3 separate regions of the Homo sapiens genome follow, and regions 2 and 3 are each linked to region 1. The links are contacts of gene promoters, found by promoter capture Hi-C in human tissues and cell types (Jung and others, 2019). All regions are on one chromosome and are shown on one strand. Each heading gives the region's core, a stretch centred on a gene start or on the middle of the fragment in contact. The rest is flanking DNA. Distances are from core to core; before and after follow the strand shown. Region 1 holds the start of OR1K1 (olfactory receptor family 1 subfamily K member 1). Region 2 overlaps RBM18 (RNA binding motif protein 18). Region 3 overlaps MRRF (mitochondrial ribosome recycling factor).

Region 1 (2,599 bases), core at 32-2,531:
CAGGCTGATCTTGAACTCTCGACCTCAGGTGATCCACCACCTCGGCTTCTCAAAGTGCTGGGATTACAGGCGTGAGCCGCTGTGCCTGGCTGGAAAGTCACTTCTTATCTTTGAGCCTAAAGACAAATTTTCTTGTGTGTAAAACCGGATCATAATATCTGCATCCTGGGTGGCTGTGGGAATAAAATGAGATCAGGCAAGGATCTGCTTCCGGGCAGGTGCTCAGGAAATGACAGCTGTTATGATTTTTGAGCATAGCAGAGGACAGAGGGTCACGTTCAACAGTTGCCAGTGTGGGTGATGCAGTCTGTCCTCAGTGGGGTCCTGCCCTCAGGAGTCACTAGCTGAGATCCTTCGCCCAATGAGAAGGGCTCGGAGTGCCCCCTGTACATCGCGATTCCAGAGGCTGTAGATGATGGGGTTCAGCATGGGGGTGACTACAGTGTACATGACAGTGGCCACACGGCCCCACTCTGCCTCGCGTCGGGATGTGGCCTGGAAGTAGACTGCAATGACTGTCCCATAGAAGAGGCTCACCACAGCCAGGTGGGAGCCACAGGTGGACACAGCCCGGAGCCTCCCAGAGGCTGAGGGCAGCTGGAGCACGGCAGCTGCGATGGCCCCATAGGAGGCGAGGATGAGCAGGAAGGGAGTGACCACCACTGCGGCGCCCTCGGTGAAGATGAGCAGCTGGATGTGGTGGGTGTCAGAGCACGAGAGCCTTAAGAGAGGCTGGTGGTCACAGAAGAAGTGGGGCACTTGGTGGGAAGCACAGAAGGACAAGCGAGCCATGAGCAGGATATACAGGAGGGAGTGGACGTGGGACACCAGCCATGCCATTCCCACCAGGGCTGCGCACATGGCCCGGGACATCCTCGTGGCATAGGGGAGGGGGTGCCGGATGGCCACGTAGCAGTCATAGGCCATGGCCGCCAGAAGACAGCTATCAGTTACCCCCAGGGCAAAGAAGAAGTACATTTGGGTCAGGCAGCCAGCCAGCGAGATGGAGTGGTCATGGGCCAACAAGTTGGCCAACATCTTGGGCACAGTGACGGAGGCGAAGCAGAGGTCAGCAAAGGACAGGTGGGCCAGCAGGAAGTACATGGGTGCATGAAGGGCTGGACTGGCCTGGATGGCAGCCACAATGAGTCCATTACCCAGGAGGCTGGCCACATACAAGAGCAAGAACAGCACAAAGAGAGGCCGCTGCTGTCCAGGACTTGTTGTCAGTCCCAATAAAACGAATGAGATTCCCTCTGAAGACTCATTGGCAGCCTCCATGGCAGGCTGGTTATTCGCCTGGAACCTGAAGGGCTCCTTTCTATTGATGGGTCACCTCCCCGATGTCTAACGGAAAAGGTGAGGGGATAAATTGTTCAAGGCTTCCTGGCCATGGGAAAATATCAAGAGTTTAGAGTCAGGTAGCCCTGGCCCTAGGCACAGGTATGACTATGGGCAAGTCATTTCACCTCCCTGAACCTTCTTCCTTTCTGGGCCTTAGATTTTCTTTTCTTTTTTTTTTTTTTTTTTTGAGATGGAGTCTTGCTCTGTCGCCCAGGCTGGAGTGCAGTGGCACGATCTCAGCTCACTGCAAGCTCCACCTCCTGGGTTCACGCCATTCTCCTGCCTCAGCCTCCCGAGTAGCTGGGACTACAGGCGCCCGCCATCACGCCCGGCTAATTTTTTTTGTATTTTTTAGTAGAGACGGGGTTTCACCGTGTTAGCCAGGATGTTCTCGATCTCCTGACCTTGTGGGGCCTTAGACTTTCAACCTGCGAAATAAGAGAATTGAAGTAACTCATCTGCAAGGTCACGTCCAACTTTGATAGTTTGTGATTTAAGCAAAAATAGAACAAAAGATATTGCACAAGATGTAGATCAGGGAAGGAGGAAAATATGAAAGAAAAGATGAAACAGAGTGAGGTTCGACACAGAAAGATCTGGCCAATGGACATTTATTTTGGAAAAGAAAAAATGAAACCAAACCAAGATGGAGGAGAGAAACATAAGAAAGAAACTCTAGAAAAAAAATCTGAAGAGCACATATGTTTACATTGAAATGAATATGAACTCACAACACCTAGACACAAATAGTGGAATTTTAGAACACTGGAAATGAAGAGGAGACTCCAGTACTTCCTAAGGGCATGGGGTGCAATGAACTGATGATATCCATGTAATTAGATTGCCATCAAATGTTTCAATTCAACAGTAGATTATAGAACAGTTTAACAATATTCAAATTCTGAAAAAAAGCATTTCGAACTTGGAATTCTTCACTCAGCAAAAATACTACTCAAGTGTGAGTAAAGAATACAGATATTTTCAGACTTAAAACACAAAACAAGGCCGGGTGCAGTGGCTCGTGCCTGTAATCCCAGCACTTTGGGAGGCCAAGGTAGGAGGATCACCTGAGGTCAGGAGTTTGAGACCAGCCTGGCCAATGTGGTGAAACCCCATCTCTACTAAAAAAAAAAATACAAAAATTAGCCAGGTGTGGTGTCACGTGCCTGTAATCCCAGCTACTTGGGAGGCTGGGGCAGGAGAATATCTTGAACCCAGGAGGCAGAGGTTGCAGTGAGCCAAGATCGTGCCACTG
Region 2 (2,599 bases), core at 69-2,568, 550 kb after region 1:
TGCAGCCTCAACTTCCTGGATTCAAGCAGTTCTCCCACCTCAGCCTCCCAAGTAGTTGGGACCACAGGCACACACCACTACCCCAGCTAATTTTTGTATTTTTTGTAGAAGCGGGGGTTCGCCATGTTGTCAGGCTGATCAAACTCCTGGGCTCAAGCAACCAGCCTGCTTCGGCCTCCCAAAGTGCTGAAATTACAGGCGTGAGCCACCATGCCCGGCCTGGGAATTGTTGCAGACAACTAAAATCAGTGATCATGTTGGGCATAGATGTTGGTTTAAAAACACTGGGTTAGGATACAAAGCCTAGTTTATATTTCTGGCTCTTTTATTTATTAACTTTGAGCAAGTCTCCTAACTTCTTTTGGCCTCAATTTTCCATCTAAGAATGGAGATTAAAAATACATATCCTTCTTACCTTATGGGAAGTTGGGAGAATAGATGAAAGTATAAAAAAAAAGTAGACATTTAATAATATTTTTAAATATATGAACTTTGAAATAATTTGTACAGGTAGGAAATTATTTTAAAAAAAACATTTAAAAATAAGATGCCCCTGCTGGCAGCTTATTACTGCTCCTACTTTGGAACTAATAGAGTGCTCTATGAGTTCTCATTCACCAAATGAAGCTTAAAGGAATAAAATATTTCTTACCTGTCACTCTAGCTTTGTGTGCTGTAGTGGGGCAAGGATGATTAGTGAATATCCAATGCCTACTACACAGTGAGAACTCAGTAAATATTTGTTAAATGTCATACTGGTAGGTTCTGGAGGAACAAGAGAATCACCAGTAAAACCAGACTGGAATGCCAACTGGCTTCTATAGCCTCTCCCGCTCCCTGGGACATCCTGTTCCTCCTCTGTTCCTTAAGGGCTTCTTCACCCTCACTAAACATGGGTTACACTTGGCTGAATGCCTCATGGATGCAAATGGGGCAAAGAAGGTTTGGCAGGATGGAAAGTACAGCCAGGTTTCCTGGGAATGACCTAGAGTGACTGTTAGCCAGCTTCAGGAATTCCTTTCAACCGTATTACTCCTCTGTCTGATGGGGAAAGGGTCAAGGAACTTTCGGCTCTGAAAACCAGGTGCATAGATTGACTCACACAGATACCTTGCTAACGGTCTCTTTGACTCACTCCTGCTTTTTCCGGCCTAGTTTCCTTGACTCCCATGCCCTTTAAAGCAATTATTCCTCACTATGAATCCAGGGAGTATGCCCTAGTCCAGGATATGGTTCCAGGGCCCTTGCGGGGAGTACAGTTTCTTGACATAGGAGGTGCTACCCTACCTAACGGAAGTGCATATATGTCTATCACCTAATAGGAACAGCACTATTACTAACATATGTTAAGTGCATATCATATACTTCATGCTTTACATTCTTTGAGTCCTCACAACCACTGAGGAATAAGTATCCATATTATCTATTAAAGATTATACATTATTTATCTGTATTTTACAGTTGACAAAGCTAGAGACACTTAAGTGACCTGCCAAATAGCATACTGCCAGCAAATGGCAGACCAGGATTTGAATTTTTGTCTGACTTTAAAAAATTCACGCCCTTAGCCAGGCGCAGTAGCTCACGCCTGTAATCCCAGCACTTTGGGAAGCCGAGGGGGCGGATCATTAAGTTGGGAGATTGAGACAGTCCTGGCCAACATGGTGAAACCCCGTCTCTACTAAAAAATACAAAAAAATTAGCCAGGCGTGGTGGTTCATGCCTGTAGTCCCAGCTATTCGGGAGGCTGAGGCAGGGGAAGCGCTTGAACCTGGGAGGCGGAGATTGCAGTGAGCCGGTATTGCACCACTGCACTCCAGAGCCTGGCGACAGAGCAAGACTCCATCTCAAAAAAAAAAAAAAAACAACAAAAAAACCATGCCCTTTTTAAAATTCTGCCTTGTAAAATTGTAAACCCTTGCCAGTTATTTACCAAAAACAATTTGTTAGAAACTCAGCCATCAAAGCTAGTGAAGCCCTGTGAGAATACATATAGCTAGTTAAGCATTTCAGTTTTTAACTAACATTTGTCCCTTTCCTGGACAGGAAGCAGAGCAAGCCATCCAGTGTCTCAATGGCAAGTTGGCCCTGTCCAAGAAGCTGGTGGTGCGATGGGCACATGCTCAAGTAAAGGTACGTCTGAGAGGCTAGAAAGACATCAAGCCTCATCCTAAACAAGCCTTCTGAAAGATGGTTGTCCACTTACCCGTTTATGTCCCAATCTCTTCACACCTGAAACAGCCATACTTCAGTCTCCTACTTGTATCTACCATGTGTGTTGCCCGATTTTTCTTTTGAAAACATCTCGGGAGGGATTAAGTTCCTTGGTTATTTCTCTCCACATGCCCACTGATCCTGGTTTTGATTTTCTCATGTGGCTAATGTGTACGCTCAGACCTCTGTCATTTCTTCGGGTGGAGGGTTCTTTGGAGGAAAATATATATTTATTTTTAAAATCAGTTGCTCTAGGCATTATTAGACTCTTCCCAGCCTTTGACTCTGTGGAGATTTGAATTTGTTTATTCTAAACGCTTGAGACATGGGTAGTTTCTGTGAGTGCTTAAAGCACTGGCATCTCCTTACTCCAGAAATCTTGGGA
Region 3 (2,599 bases), core at 39-2,538, 510 kb after region 1:
TGGTGGCCAATCAGGTGCTTCTTCTGTGAATGCCATTTGCTATTTAATAAAAGAAGTGGCTGGCTCTGAAAAGCAATCTGCCTGATGAGGTCTTCAAGCTGTGTAATTAGGAGGCTATTCCCTAAATTGGCCCACAGTGCCTACGGGATTAGATGAACAAGGAGGAGAGGCCTCAGTGGTTCAGAGGGGCCCAGAAAGAGAAACAGTTGACAGTTCCCTTTTCATCAATTTCTCTGTTCCTCACTAACATCAGAAATGAGTGCCTCCCTTTTATCAACCTAATAACAGGTATTCATCCATTCAAGGAAAATTTACCAAATGGTGCCATGTGCCAGGCACTGTTTGGTGTTGGACACAATGAGCAAATTAGACATTCCTACATTCCAAGCTTACACTCTAGTAAAAGTGAGATGAAAAATAAATGTGTACACAAATGTACACTAGTAATAAGTGCAATAAAGAAAAAGAATTGTGCTGTATAGGAGAACTTAGTGTGGAAGAATAATTTAGATTGGAGAGGTCAGGAAAGGCTTCCTTAAGAAAGTGACGTTTAAGCCATGATCCAAAATATAAGTAGCAATTAGCCATGCAACAGTGTTCCATGCAATGGGAACAGGATATGCAAAGGCTCTAAGGATGCAAAGGGTTTGGTGTGTTTGAGGAACTGAAAGACCAATGTGGCTAAAGCATTGTACAAGGATGACAGTGGCACAAGACTGGCAAAACTGAAAAAACAGAGGCAAGATCAAGCAAAGCCATCTAGGCCATAATGAAGATTTTGGACTGTTTCTTGGCCACAGTGAGGATTTTGGACTGTTTCTTAAAGATTGCTAGAAGCCACCAATAAAGGCAAAGCATGGGAATGACAACTGACAAAATCTTTTATACATATATTTTTTTTTCCTTGTTTATTTAAGATACAAGGTCTTGCTCTGTCACCCAGGCTGCAGTGCAGTGGCATGATCATAGCTCACTGCAGCTTCAAACTCCCGGACTCAAGCGGTCCTTCCACTGCAGTTTCCTGAGTAGCTAGCACTACAGGTGTGTGCCATCACACCTCACTAATTTTTTTATTTTTGAAATTTTTGTAGAGCCAGGGTTTCACTATGTTGCCCTGGCTGGTCTTGAACTCCTGGCTTCAAGTGATCCTCTAACCTTAACCTCCCAAAGTGCTGGGATTACAGGCATGAGCCACCACGCCTGGCACAATATATATTTTTCAAAAACTCATTCTGGTTATAGTATGGAGAATGGAGTAGGGGAGTGGTAACAGCACACCCACAGGTGTGCCTGGCCCATTAGCTATCAGAGCCCTTTGATTTGAAACAGTGTGTTCACAGCAAGGGCTTTCCCTTTCTCCTATCTCTAGCCTAGTTTGTCAAATACAACAGGTCCAACCTTGGTCTATGACTTTGGAATACAACTACTGAAATAGACAATAAGAACAGGAGGATTCCTTCACCTTATATTAGCAGATGAGGAAATGGAGGCCCAGAGAGTGAAGCAACTTGCCCAAGGTCAAACAGCCAGTTGGTGGTAGAGATGGGACCGGATTCCAGGTACTCTAAGACTCCTAATCCAGGCCAATTCCTAGTGGACCAATAACAAAAAGCCCAATTACCTTCTTCAACTACACTTAAAATCATAAAGCTTCAAAGATGCAATGACCTAATACAACCCACCTTCCAGTTTTGGAAGCACTGTGCTCCATGCAATATTCTGCAATGGTCAGTCTAGTATAAAAGGACTTCCTGGAGGGTCTGCTCCAAATACTAATGCAGAGGTCACAAATTGGTGGCCCTCAGGCCACATTTGGCCCATTAAAGTATTGTTTTATTTGCTTCATAGTCTTTAAAAAAAAAACTCAATTAGTCATCAACATTTACAGAATAAAGATGTCACATAAAAATTTGTGTTACTAGCTTCTTCTGGAAATAAAAATCGTAGTATCAGGTAACACTGATTACCAGGCCTACATTGTGCCTGGCAATGATCAGCAGGAGCTGGGCAGAGGCATTCCACTCACACAAGGTACAGGCTCTCCAGCTCACCAGAGCCTTTTCACGCTGGCCAAGCACCAATCACTGCATCTCCAGTATTGTTTTTCTTAGATGGGACCCGTTTGGGTATTCAAACAACTTACCTAGCCTCTGTAGCATCTGAGTTTAACAGAAAAGGAATCTGGCAACAGGAAAAGAGCTTTGCCTTATCCTTAAGTTCTCTTTATTATGTCTTCTCTCTTGTTTCATCCTAAGCTGAAGGAACACTTCCTCCTGATATGACCCAGTCTCCTCCATTCCAAAAGAGACCACGGAGAGAGATTTTAGCAAGGCCATCTTACCTCTGGGAAGCTGGCCATATTCACCAAAATCAGCTGTGGCGACTTCATGGAGATCTGGCTAATCTGGTTTAAAGCAAGCTTCCCGTCAGCAGTTACCACAGCAATCTTGTCAAGGGATCCTAAAAGAAAAATTACAGAGTTTTAGAATTCCAAAGAACCTTAGTAGCCCCAAATCTAAGTCCTATCTAATTCAGATTCAGGTTGGATGCAGTGGCTCATGCCTGTTATCCCAGAGCTTTGGGAGTGAAGTGGGAGGAA

What was found. The method cuts DNA at HindIII sites, captures the fragments that hold promoters and counts their contacts. A contact is called where the count stands out against the background at its distance.
Region 2: a fragment that was not itself captured here is called in contact with the fragment with the promoter of OR1K1 in region 1 in 1 of the 25 tissues and cell types used here (IMR-90 fibroblasts).
Region 3: a fragment that was not itself captured here is called in contact with the fragment with the promoter of OR1K1 in region 1 in 2 of the 25 tissues and cell types used here (dorsolateral prefrontal cortex and hippocampus).

What each region holds. Positions count from the first base shown.
Region 1 is chr9:122,798,805-122,801,403 of GRCh38, reverse strand. OR1K1 (olfactory receptor family 1 subfamily K member 1) reads right to left here and starts at 1,281. Exons shown (of 1, transcript NM_080859.1): 1 at 331-1,281. The coding sequence starts at 1,281. The coding sequence ends at 331. The HindIII fragment of the contact is 19,122 bases long and covers 1-2,599 here.
Region 2 is chr9:122,247,052-122,249,650 of GRCh38, reverse strand. It overlaps RBM18 (RNA binding motif protein 18), which reads left to right. Exons shown (of 6, transcript NM_033117.4): 4 at 2,047-2,133. Among named protein-coding and RNA genes, the nearest start is that of RBM18, 16 kb to the left of the region's middle. The HindIII fragment of the contact is 4,196 bases long and covers 1-2,599 here.
Region 3 is chr9:122,285,030-122,287,628 of GRCh38, reverse strand. MRRF (mitochondrial ribosome recycling factor) reads right to left here. Exons shown (of 7, transcript NM_138777.5): 4 at 2,342-2,460. Among named protein-coding and RNA genes, the nearest start is that of MRRF, 21 kb to the right of the region's middle. The HindIII fragment of the contact is 3,862 bases long and covers 1-2,599 here.